Linked DNA regions of Homo sapiens: region 2 is linked to region 1. Evidence: promoter capture Hi-C in 16 types of primary human blood cells and fetal thymus (Javierre and others, 2016). All regions are on one chromosome and are shown on one strand. Each heading gives the region's core, a stretch centred on a gene start or on the middle of the fragment in contact. The rest is flanking DNA. Distances are from core to core; before and after follow the strand shown. Region 1 holds the start of NBAS (NBAS subunit of NRZ tethering complex). Region 2 overlaps LOC105373436 (a long non-coding RNA gene).

What was found. Contacts are between HindIII fragments. The CHiCAGO score rates a contact against its expected background, and 5 or more counts as called.
Region 2: a contact is called between a fragment that was not itself captured here and the fragment with the promoter of NBAS in region 1, in 2 of 17 cell types (M2 macrophages and total CD4 T cells). The highest score is 6.9, in M2 macrophages.

What each region holds. Positions count from the first base shown.
Region 1 is chr2:15,559,534-15,565,779 of GRCh38, reverse strand. It overlaps NBAS (NBAS subunit of NRZ tethering complex), which reads left to right and starts at 4,446. Exons shown (of 52, transcript NM_015909.4): 1 at 4,446-4,592. The coding sequence starts at 4,476. It overlaps LOC105373440 (a long non-coding RNA gene), which reads right to left and starts at 3,632. Exons shown (of 4, transcript XR_001739297.2): 1 at 3,597-3,632; 2 at 1,506-1,678; 3 at 582-715. RefSeq lists an enhancer at 4,247-4,656. The HindIII fragment of the contact is 4,253 bases long and covers 4,420-6,246 here.
Region 2 is chr2:13,050,123-13,056,993 of GRCh38, reverse strand. All of the region lies in intron 1 of LOC105373436 (a long non-coding RNA gene), which reads right to left. Among named protein-coding and RNA genes, the nearest start is that of MIR3125, 320 kb to the right of the region's middle. The HindIII fragment of the contact is 2,026 bases long and covers 3,910-5,935 here.

The DNA of each region.
Region 1 (6,246 bases), core at 3,197-5,696:
TGAGGACCTTGTCTGAATTTTAGCTCTGTTGTAATCTTGGATTTCTCTAAGCTTTAATATTCTTATCTGTGAAATAGAGATAGACTCTGTCTTCTGAGTCTGTCAATTTTAGCAGTGGCTGTGAGGATGGAAAAGCTCAGTAAGCTATGAACACTCTCAATTATTAACTAATAACACCAATCTGTCAATTCAGAAGCAACATTGCAGAGATCCATACACAACATACAGATTCTAAATTTGGTAAATCTTTAGCTGGGTGTGGTGACACGTGCATGTAGTCCCAGCTATTTGGGAGGCTGAGACAAGAGGATCGCTTGCATCCAGGAGGTTGAGGCTACAGTGAGCTGTGTTTGCGCCACTGCACTCCAGCCTGGGTGACACAGCAAGAGCCTGTCTTAAATAAATACGTACATAAATAAATAAGGTAAAATCCTTATTCCAACCCGTGTCTGATATTCTATATTTTAAGGTAAAATAAATAATGCAAACTCCACTGGTAGAAACACCAAGAGAGGGGTGGTTTCAATGCCTAGAAACTCAAACTAGTTGAAGCATAAAAGAGAATGAACTAGATCACTTACCTGGGAAGATGGAATCATACAGGTGTCTCTTGTTTCAAGCATGCTTGTATCAGATGAAGTCTCTACCTCTTTCTCTTCTCAGTTTTTTTCAATGTATTGGTTTCATTCTTTCACTATATAGACAGGCTTTCTCTCTGGAATGAATAAGATGGATGCTAATAACCCCAATATTCTTCAAACTCTGTGACCCAAAAAGGCAAGGAGCCTTTTCCTCCATTTCCACTTAAAAAAAAAAAAAAATCCCAGGGAAGGATTCTCAACCTGATGCTCAAAGTAGCAGGAATGGAGTTCTTTGGGTCAAGGGGGCAGAGTTTGGGGATTGGCGGCCCCACTAGGAATTATCTGACTGAGTGAATGAAGAGCAGCTAGAACAGTCTCCGAAGGAAGCAAAGGGCCTGGGCAGACAAAAATGACCAGTGTCACTACAAGCACGAGGGAAGAAAGAAGAGAATAATGACGAACAGAAGAGTCTTGCTATCCTTGTGAAACGCTCACCACCTCTTCATTAAATTACCCACTCTGCTGTTTAGGATTAGTGTGACAATCATCTCAGTTTGCCCATGACAGCCCTGTTTCATGCTTGTTGTCCTAGCATAACTATTAAAATCATGGCTTTTTCTTTTCAAAAATATCCCAGTTTGGATACTTTGCTATATAGTCACTGTAAATAAGACCAAGTAGCAATTTGGCTTCAGCCACTCAATCTGTTTTAAGTCATCCTATTCCTTTGATTCAGTTGAACTTGATCAGATCTTTGTCTTTTCTTTTCCAACCCGTGTCTGATATTCAACATTTGGAGTTCTTCTTGTGGCATACATATTCTTACCATCTTCTTCCCTTTTATTGGTCACCTCACATTTCTCCCCTTCCAGGAACTCTTCTGGATTTTAACTAGTGGTGCTGAAGGTTTAAGAACCCACTTACCTGCTCAGAGCATCTCTGCTAGTAGAATTTTTCTTCCAGGGATTGCTTCAAGTTAAATGTATACTCCCTCTCCAAATAGCATAGATTCATCCTGTGACACTTCGGTTGTTGTTTCTTCAGAGTAGAAGCTCTCTGCCAGGCATGAGTTTATGTTTTCTGTCCTTTTGTACATGCTATGGTAAGTGGGGTATGGATGAGGATGGATAAAACAATTAACATGGTGTGAGGCTGGGCATGGTGGTGCGTGCCTGTAATCCCTGCACTGTGGGAGGCCGAGGCAGATCACTTGAGCCCAGAAGTCCAAGACCCCCCATCTCTACAAAAAATAATAAAGTTAGCCCAGCATGGTGGCATGCACCTGTGGTCCCAGCAACTCAGGAGGCTGAGGTGGGAGGATTGCTTGAGCCCAGGAAGTAGAGATTTCAGTTAGCTCTCTTTGTGCCACTGCACTCTGGCCTCAGTGAAAGAGTGAGACCCTGTTTCAAAAACAAAAACAAACAAACAAAAATAGTGTGATGATGGTAAAATAAATAAATTCTTCATGGTGTATTTGCAGTGGTCCCCTTTGCACACCAGCTAAGAAGGAAGCATCCTTTGCCAGTTTGACCAGCTATCTCCTGGCCGTGGTTGTACAGATTGAGTGAAAGTGGTGAAGAGAGTGATGAAACAGAAAGCAACCCCAATATCTATCTGAGAAAGGATGAGACAGAGGAATAAAGAGCCAAGGAAACTTGGTGTGGAGAAATAGGTGGGGTTGTACTGAGGTACTGGAGGACTCCAGTAACCAGCCCTCACACCGCATTCCATGTGCATGGTGTTCCTGCCTCTTCATGTTCTACCGCATGCAATGTGGGCGGGGCTCCCCGGAGGTATACAGTTTGTCAGCCTTGTGCGGTAGGGAGAAGACACGTCTGGTGTTCACAATGAGGGGTTTGATTGAAGGGCACAGCTGCTATGCAGAGAAATACTATGGGGAGACAATGTGTAAAAGATTTTCTGGGAAGTCTGTCATTTATTCAACAAATAATATATATTTTGTCCTCTGCTCTATGCCAGGCACTGTTATAAATTCTGGGGATATAGCAGGGATGGATATAGCATTTGCATGCATATAGATAGAGCACCTGGCATGGCTTACCTTTTAGTGAATGGAGACAGATAATAAGCAAATATACTGTATAGCCATTTAAGTGATGACAAGTGTAATGGAAAAAATAATAGAGCAGCTCTGGAAAGCTGGAGTTGGAGAATGGTCATTGCAAATTTAAAAATGAGCAGTCAAGGTAGGCTTCAGAGAGAGACGACATTTGAGCAAAAACTTGAAGGAGATAAGGGAGGAACCAGGTAAACATCTGGTAGAAAGCCTTCCAAGTGGAGGGGACAGGCTTTGCAGAACTCCTGAAGTTGATGTGTGTCTGGTGTGTTCAGAAATAGAGCCAGTGTGGCTGAAGGTAGTAGGGGGAGCAGGAAATGAGGTGTGAGATTTAGGGGAGCAGGCAGATGACGTAGGGCTTTGAGGTCATTAAACTTTGAGAGAAATGGGAGCTGGTTAGAGGCTTCCCAGCAGAGGCTTTTAATTGCATCACCGCCTAATGCATCTTGATGGATATCATGAATATAATTATCTCAAGGGATATTCAGTATTTGTGTTTCTTTTGATGTGAAACAGTGTAATACTTTGTACAGTATATATTCATTCATGTTACAGTAGGCTCTGCTTATAACTGTCCACAAAGAGGTATTTGTTGAATGAATGAATGAATGAACAAATGGGGTTGACCTTTTCGCTCCCTCCATGCGGGTTCTCAACCTATTATTTCAACTTTATTGCCCCTACACCCTTTCTCAACTTGGGTTCTATTCACCCGTCTTGTTGAGTACTAATTAGGAAAAAAAAAAAGGCAGGCTAGTGGGAGCAGGGAAAAACAAAGAGATAAGGCAAATTAGCTATACGTCTGTCTTTCTTCATGGTCCAAAACATATAAACAAAAGGAAGAAACAAATAAGCCATAGGTCTACTTTTCTTTATGGCCCAGGACATATGGCCCTTCTACCCAGATAACGTACTTAACTCACAAACTTCCTGCTTACCTTCAAATGCCTCAATTTCTGAAACACTTCAGCTGACAAAAAAAAAAAAAAAAAAAGAAAGAAAGAAAAAAAAAAAGCAAGTTAACTCCCTGCTACCTGGTGTTATCAATCACTCCAAGTTCCAGTCTATAAAATTCTCAACAAGCCTTTGTTTCCTAGCAATGAGCTCCTCCTCTGCTGAGTCGGCCCGCTGCTCCCTGGCAACGAACTTTCATACTTTCTTTAATCTGTCTTTCTTTATCTACCACTGTCTTGGTAAATTCTTTTACTCCCACACTGAGAAAGTCGTCACTCACTGGCGACACGTTGAAAGAGTTCTTTCAACTCTGTATTTCTGCCTCTGTCTCTGCTCATTCCATTTCCCGCTACTTGAAATGCTTCTCCAGTAGATTAAAATTCTGCCTATTGTTAAAGACGCAGGGACAAGCTCCACGTCCTCCAGGAAATCCCTGCAGACTCTGGCCTTCGTTGCCTTTTCTGAGCTCCTGTAGCATCCTTCCTCTGCTACCTTTCATTGGATAACTTTAGTTGTTTATTTTAAAACCACTGTTTGAACTCTCTCTACGTGTTAGGCAAAGAATATACAAATGAACATTAGCATTTCAGTGGGGTACCTTTACCATTTCTGTTTTATGGAAACTGAGTTATAAGAGAGGCTCAATGACTTGGCCGATCTCATGTAGATTAATGAACAAGGAGTGTATCAGGACCGGGACACAAGTCGTTCCCAAGACAAGCAATAGTCCCTGTCCTTCCTACTCATAAAAGGGTTAACCTAGCATTTCCTTGCCGTGAAACAAAAGCGGCCGCGGATAGAGAAGCTTGTCCTGTGAGGGATTCCGTAGAGACACTCCTCCGCTGCCTGAGTCCTCGGCGAACATGGCGGCCCCCGAGTCAGGGCCGGCTTTGAGTCCAGGCACTGCAGAGGGTGAGGAGGAGACGATTCTCTATGACTTGTTGGTCAACACCGAGTGGCCACCGGAGACTGAAGTACAGGTGAACCAGGCCCATCTACAGCAGCAGCCAGCTTGGCGCGGGCGCTTCGTGGGTAGAGCCACGTAGCAGGAGCCACGTAGGGGAGTGGAGACGGGTGGGTGGGGGACTAGGGCCGGTTGGCTTGTGCGGTCGCCTTGGCAACGGCACCTTGGGCTAGCGGGGGTCTAGGGCGGGGTGGGGTGGTGGTCCCTGAGATTCTTCCTGGGCTCAGAATTCGGTTGTTGGGGGCTGGAACTTCGTGCTCTGGGGAGCGTACGATCCCACTTTGGTTCTCAGTTTCGCTCTCTGTATTGGGAGGAGAGGGGATTGTTAGTGTCGCTCTCTGTATTAGGAGGGGAAGGCACAGCGCTGGACTCGAGGGTCCTTTCTCCTATCTGGACCCTCAGTGGTCCCTTCTCGCGGTCTGGCTAGGGCTAGTCTGGGCCGACGCTCAACTGCGATGGGAGAATTTTCCAGGACCTTACAGTCTGCAGCATCTGCCAGGCTGGTGCAGAGCGCAGAATCTGAGCCTTTACCCATACTGGGGGCTGGATCGCGCCAGGTCTTGTGTGTTTCAATAAAAGAGCATTTAATAAGGGTGTGCGTGTCCGTTCGTCTGTCTCGGTGTCACAGGTGCTGTGCTAGGTGCTAAGGATACAGAGATGAATATGTTTTCGTGGAGCTTCTCGTCTAGAGGGGAGACAGTCCCGTAAACGTTTTTCATAACCTAGCGTTTTATGCGCTATAGTTAGCGATGTGAGCAAAATGCCACGGAAGTGCAGAGTAAAGAGCTGCTGACTGGGATTGGGATCTCCGCTACAGAAGGGTTATAGAGGTTGATAATTTATGGACTGGATCTTGGGATTATCAGTTGTTTGGTAGTGAAGGCCTCCCGGGTCTGTGATGAAGAGTAGGAACCATGGATCCATGTTTATTTTATTTTATTTTTTATTATTATTATTTTTTGGATCCATGTTTATTTAACAGATATTTATTGAGTGCTTAACACGTGCCAGTTACTGTTTTAGACCCAGAGGAAGCAGCCAGATCGAAAAGAACCTTTATTAAAGATTATGTAGTCCAGCCCATGTGAGTTATCTTACATTTTTTCTGAGTGTTTCTTTGCTGGAGAAACGACTCATTTTTCAGCCCAAAGTTTGTATTTTTTTCCTCTGTAGCCTCCTTCCCACTGCAGTTTGTGCTTATCATGAATAATTTATTTTGTAGACGGGTAGAGATCTGCATATATTACTGTTTAATTTCAAGTACTTAGTTTGTCTTAATGTGAATATTTTTTGGGTTATGCAGCTAGGAAGCTGTTGCTGAGGCAGCTGGTTAGATAAGTTTCCACTCCTTAACACTCATTGGTTAATTGCAGTAATGTTTCAGAATGCTTACCATAAATTGATTCCAAAAAAGTAACCACAGAATTAACTTACTTTGAAACCCTTAGCACTTTGTTTTGTGTTTGTGTGTTGGGGGTGGGGGAGTTCAATTGATTTCTGCATTCTATCGATTTCTGCATTCTGTTGATTTCAGCTGTTGAATTATAAGCTCTTGGAGGGCAGACATCTGATTCATCTTTATATCTCTTCCCAGGGCCAAATTGTGTCTTGCATGAATCCAACAATCAATTCATGTTTATTGAGTGAAATAACTTTTCTGTGTTTTTTAA
Region 2 (6,871 bases), core at 3,673-6,172, 2.5 Mb after region 1:
GTCAGACTGATTCAGTCCCATTTTATTTTGATGTTAATTTAGGATATAAATAAATGTTAGTTCATTGTGGCAGACAAATGCTCTTCTGACATATTAAAGAGGCCAGCATCTCAGGCAAAGAACTGGCAAGATTTTAAGATTTACAAAATAATTTGCTGCAGAGACCACTTGATGTCAACATGGGGATTGTCAGGGTTGACTTCTTGAAGGAAAAATAATATAATTCACTCTACAAACAATAATGATCCAGAATTTATTCTTTGCCTCAAAATATCCCCAAACTTTATCAATGGTCAAGTTTATTTTGATCAGCTCGGCCTATAGTAGACTGTAACAGCTGGCCCATAAGTTTCCTCAGTTTACCAATAAACAGCCATAATTAAAATAACATTGGGATTCATTTTCCAGGCATTTTATTAGCTTCTCTGAATTGATTAATGCTTCATAAAGTCGTTTGAGGGGGAAAAAACAGTGATTCCATCCTTGATGAGTGTCTATTTTTGTTTTTTTAATTTTATAACTACTAATTTATATCACAGTGCCACCTATTGGGCTAAATGGGCTTTTCTCAACAAGAGTCAAACTTCACCACTCACTGTTTCGGTGTCAAGAGAGCCACCAAATTAGTTTATTGCCATTAGTAGGCATGGTAATTATTCAAAGGAATATTTAATTTCAGCACAGCTGAAAGCACTGTAAATGGTATGGAGGCATAGGTAATAGCAAAGAAATAACTGGATGTACTTAGTGCAAGTTATTATTATTGTGATATCATATTAAAAGACTTTTATTAAATAAAGCACTGCAGCAACATTTCTTGATTTTGGATTTTCATACTCTCTTGAAAAATATGTAGCATATATAATGGAAGCAAATGAAGTTTTAAGTGAGCCAGACTCCCCCCAATACCCCAGAAATATTGAGGAGATATTTACTCTGTTTTCCTTTGCATCTTGTAATGACGCCCATTGTAGCACACAAGCACAGAAAACAGCAACATCTAGCTATCATCTGCTTGCATGTCAGTCTGCCAGATTATACTGTAGAGTTAGGAGGGTAAGGTCTATGCTTTTTTAGATCTGTATTCCAGAAACAGCTACAGAGCTTGGCCGAGCAGTATTCTCCAGAGAGTGAGGAGAGTCTAATAGAAACATAATTTTCAGACCTCTCTGCCTCATCAGCACATTATCCTTCCTGGTTCACATGAAGAAAAATGTCCATTGGTAGAAAGAGTGACAAATTCAAAGAAAGCAATCATTACAGATAAAATTTGGATAATATGAGTTTTTTTGTTTGTTCGTTTGTTTTTGAGATGGAGTCTTGCTTTTTCACCCAGGCTGGAGTGCAGTGGCGCAATCTCGACTCACTGCAAGCTCTGCCTCCCAGGTTCACGCCATTCTCCTGCCTCAGCCTCTTGAGTAGCTGGGACTACAGGCGCCCACCACCACACCAGGCTAATTTTTTGTATTTTTAGTAGAGACAGGGTTTCACCTTGTTAGCCAGGATAGTCTCGATCTCCTGACCTCGTGATCCACCCTTCTCGGCTTCCCAAAGTGCTGGGATTACAGGCGCGAGCCACTGCGCCCAGCCACGCCTGGCTAATATTTGATTTCACCAAGTTGGTCAGGTTGGTCTCCAACTCCTGACCTCGTGATCTGCCAGCCCCAGCCTCCCAAAGTGCTGGGATTACAGGCGTGAGCCACCATGCCCAGCCAAGATTTGGATAATGTTTAATGTCACCCTGACCTATTTGAAATCTTAGTTCTAACTTCAGAGCTACCACATTAATATTTAAAACATTTAATCAATGAGTTTCATCTCTTTTGTTGGTATTGCGCTTTTTTCCCTGTATTGTATAGGTCTTAAATATCTGCATTATGTTGAGAGTGTGCTAAAAGAAGGATCTTCATTTGAGCATGTACATCCAGAGGAGACATTGTCCAGATTTTTAAATTCCATAGGTAAAAATCTCTTTAAAAAAGTTTGTCTGCAAGTATCTTAAAATTCACAAATAGTTCTTTCCCTCTTTATTAGAGAAACTTACATATCTTACCTGTTACAAGTTTTACTAAGGTGATTTGGCCCAGAATGTGAAAACCTCTAAGGAACCAAACAAACATGATCTCTTTTAAAGATTATTAATTAAGGTCCCATAAACCTATGTTCTGTGGGGTGTGGTGAAGTGGCAGATATAAAACTTAGTAACAAAAAAGTATCTTGGTGTATGTGAATTAAGATATATGGTATACTGGTATGTAGAAGTACTAAGAACATAATACATTTATATTCTTTGCCTCCTCCATCTCCTCAGTATCTTCAAAGAAAACATTCCTTTTGAGGCAGAGACCCCTGAGAGAATGAGACTCGTTTCTTGCAATGCTATAATGAAATACCTGAGACTAGGTAATTTATAAAGAAAAGAGGTGTAATTGGCTCACGGTCCCGCAGGCTATATGGAAAGCACGGTAACACCTGTTTCTGGGGAGGCCTCAGGAAACATTCAATCATGGCAGAAGGTGACGTGGGAGCAGGAACCCATTAAAAGGCAGGGCAGGAGGAAGAGACAGAGGGGGTAGGTGCCACACACATATGAACAAACAGATCTCATGAGAACTCTATCAGGAGAATAGCAGCAAAAGCATGGTGCTAAACCACCCCCATGATCCAATCATCTCCCACCAGGCCCCACCTCCAACACTGGGAATTACCATTCAACATAAGATTTGGGCGGGGACAGAGATCCAAATCGTATCAGAGGAAAACCAAAACAGATCTGCCTTGCCAAAGTAGAAATATGTTAGTCGTGTGGATTTTTAAATGTATTAGATTTGTGCAAAAGTAATTGCAATTTTTGCCACAATTACTTTTGCGCCAACCAAATAACTAGAAAGTTTTCTGGGACTTTTACATTTTTACATTATATTAGATAATATATAAGGACAAACTTTCTATGTTATTATTTTCAGATTCACTGTGGATTATTCAATAAGGTAGTCAAAAAATTCAAATCGTATCATAAAAGTTTTTCCAATTATAGTCAATTCTCATTTTATTTTTTCTTAAATACGATTATCTTTTCTACTTCCAAAAAAATAACTTGATAATTCTCAAAAATTAATTTTTTTGCTGTATTCTTTTTTAAATGCAATTTTTGATAATGTTTTATGTCATTAAGAAATAGATTTGTTTCATAATTATAAAATTATATCACATATAAATTCCATCTTTAAACTGTAAATATGTTAAATATTTTAAACTGTAAATATGTTAATAATTACTATTATTGATAATAATAGTAATTATAATAATACTTTAACCCAATCCAAAAATATTATTATAACGTACAACATCTCAGGAAACAAAACAAATGTAAAAATCTCAATGAATACACTCATTTTAATTTCGATAGGTATGATGAAGTTATCAGTAAAAGACTTACAAACTTATATGCTACATGAGTATTGAAATATGGGGAGAAAGTAAAATTGAAATATGAGTTCAAAGAGAAAAAGAAAATGAAAGTTGTCTGTGTTAAAGAAGAGCTTGCTCATCTACTTTTAAATGAAGGACGGTGGATATCAAATTATTATAAGCTTTATGTTCCATTAAATACTATTAAAATAGTAATGTTATTGTTCGATGTCACTATTTACAACTTGTCAGGTACTGCATCCTTTCAATATAATTAAAGAAAACGTAAAAGTTAACATAAAAGACCTTTAAATGGAATACGTGGTTTTTCTTAAGTATACTATATTAGAGCATGAACTTCTCTGAAAGAAAAGAAATAGTGACGGGCATGTAGTAGATGTTTAAAAAAATTTAAAAACCTCGTTGAAATAGGAGACAGTTTACTATAGTTATTAAAGCTCATGATTCTCTTCAATATTTGGCTATAGACAGCAAGCTTCAATAAGCATTTCCATGGGCAAATAGACTCATTTTAAGCATGGATTTAACAACTATATCAATATTTCCAAACTAGCATTCCCTCTGTTTTTTACCTGATAAATGAGTATATTTACCAGATAAATGAGTATATTCCTACAAGGATTCCTACAAGTATATTCCTACAAGGATTTATCCTCCAAATAAATGAGTATGGTCCTACAAGTATATTCCTGCAAAATGTATAAATTTGTGTGGCCCCAGCATGAACAAGGCTATATGACCAGGATAGTGTGATCTTCAAGTCTCTCACCTCCTTCAGAGTATGAGCTGAGGAAACTAACTCCACCAGTCCGACTTCAACGTGTTAGCCTCAGGCTCACGGATAGAAGCTCCTCCAATTAACCCTGGCTGCAGCCAAGCAGCATTCTGTGGCTTTAACCAAGATCCTCATGTTCTTCAGAAAAGAAAGAGAATTCTGAAAATCGTATTTGAATTGTATTCATTATTGATCTCTTTTCAAACTAATATGCAATATGTATATTTACATTATGATATCATAAATATGGACATGTTAGAGAACATCAATGATTTCAATTATGGGAATGATTTTATCAATTGATTTATATAATCAATTGATATCATTAATATACCAATTGATTGATGCAGAATAAGGCTCCTGTTAACACAGCTGCATATATCTGAATTCCTTGAAATTGTGTTCTGATTTTAAAAGTTGTGGATATTCTATAACTACTTTTTGTTTTAAGTCTGAACATGTCTACTCTTGTTTAATTGTACCAATGAGGCAGACTAACAGTTAAGGTGCACACTACTGCATAATCCACCAGGCAAGGTCCACGTGAGTGTGTCTGGCATTTTGTCATAGCTTAATATTTGTTTGTACAGTAACCCATCCAAATAAGAAAATAGCATGTTATTTTCTTACAGATTTACCATTATGATTAAGTTGTGCTTTATCAGATGTGTTTTTAATTATTATGGTATTTCTATGAATTGGGGTGATTATTTCCTAACATATTTACAAATGTCATATTTCCAGCTTATATGATGAATTCTTAAAATTTTAAATACCCAGCTGTCCAAAACAAAGACAATTTTAAGAGTAATCTAACAAATACTACAAAATTCATGCTCAAGCTATTTGACACAGCTTTTGTGTCTGAAACAGTTTATCCTATTTGACAACAGTATATGAAACAAGGAAATATGCTGAAAACTCTCAACAAAGTCAATCAAAAATAGGGAAAACAGGAAAATAAAATAATGGCTCTCATGTAGTTTGATGTTGATAAATATTGTTCAAGTTCTAAATATTTGGAGCCAGGCACAGTGGCTCACACCTGTAATCCCAGAACTTTGGGAGGCCGAGGAGGGCGGATCACGAGGTCAAGAGATCGAGACCATCCTGGACAACATGGTGAAACCCCGTCTCTATTAAAAGTACAAAAATTAGCTAGGCCTGGTGATATGCACCTGTAGCCCCAGCTACTCAGGAGGCTGAGGCAGGAGAATCGCTTGAACCCTGGAGGTGGAGGTTGCAGTGAGCCAAGATCGTGCCACTGCACTCCAGCCTGGCAATAGAGCGAGACTCCGTCTCAAAAAAAAAAATTCTCAATATTTCATAAATATATTCAAATTCTCAATATTCACATGCTTTCATTTGTTTAAAGTTAAAAATTGTGCATTATATATATAGAATAGATGCAAATAATAAAGGTATATTCATTTGAATATGTATGTTCATTATAAATTAAAATAATTGATTGAATCGATCATTTAACTGTGAACCTAGCATTTTAATAAGAGCTAGAACAATATCAAATACTTTCACTTTCTTATATCCTTTTTTGCTAGCTCTTCCTTTTACCTCCTCCCTTCCCCAAAACAATCAAAATTCTAAACTTTGTTTATAATATCCTTAATATAAGTCATCTCTCCCTTTCATATGTAAAAACAATGCAGTCAGTTGTATTTGTGTTTGAGGTTTCTAAAAATTGCATCATGCTGTCTTCTACAAAAAGCTTATTCATGTAGCTGTGTGTAGTTGTTCATTTATTTTGACTGCTATATAATATCCATTGGGTGACTATATCATATCACTTATCAATTCTTCTGTCAAACAACAATTTTGCTATTATAAATAATGCCATAATGACACTTTTTGTGTATGTATATATAGTTCTACATATACAAAAATACACACAATATTTTGTCTCTAGATAATGCACAAATAAATTGAATTGCTGAGTCACAGCCTAAGTGACTGTTCTGTGTTATAACATGATACTAAACTGTTTTACAAAACTGTAAAATTGCCTTAAAAAATTGTACCCAACTGTACAATGGATGTTGTACCAACTTACATTCCCATCAGCATTCTGTTGTATTACTCATCAATCCATATGATCACAAAAACATAATAGTATAAGATATTGTATTTTATTGTCATTGTATGAGTATAAAAAGCTATTTCATAACAGCATTAATTTCATTTCCATAACTACTTAAGAGGCTGAACACCTTTTAATGTTTTTTAAGCCTGCCTCCATAGGCATGATATCTGCTTATTTCTTTGCTCCTTTTTTTAAGATTTTATATTATGTCATATTTTTAATAACTTTTTAATTTTTTAAATCCTCCTATATGCTTGTAATATTAATCATTTATTATTTATATGTATTTCAGCTATTTTATTTCAGTTTGTAAGTTGAGTTTTTCTTTCTTTTAATAAAAAACCTCTTTTCCATTTTAATATAGTTAAATTTTCTGAAATGTTCCTTTTCCTTATAGTTAATATTTTTTGAGTCATGTAACCCAAAGGTCATTGTGATTATCTTCTCAGATTTGAAGAATTTGCCTTTCACATTTCAGTTTTAAATCTATCTGGTGTGTGTGTGTGTGTGTGTGTGTGTGTGTGTGTGTGTGTGTGTGTCTTGTGGGGACATAATTTTATTTTTCT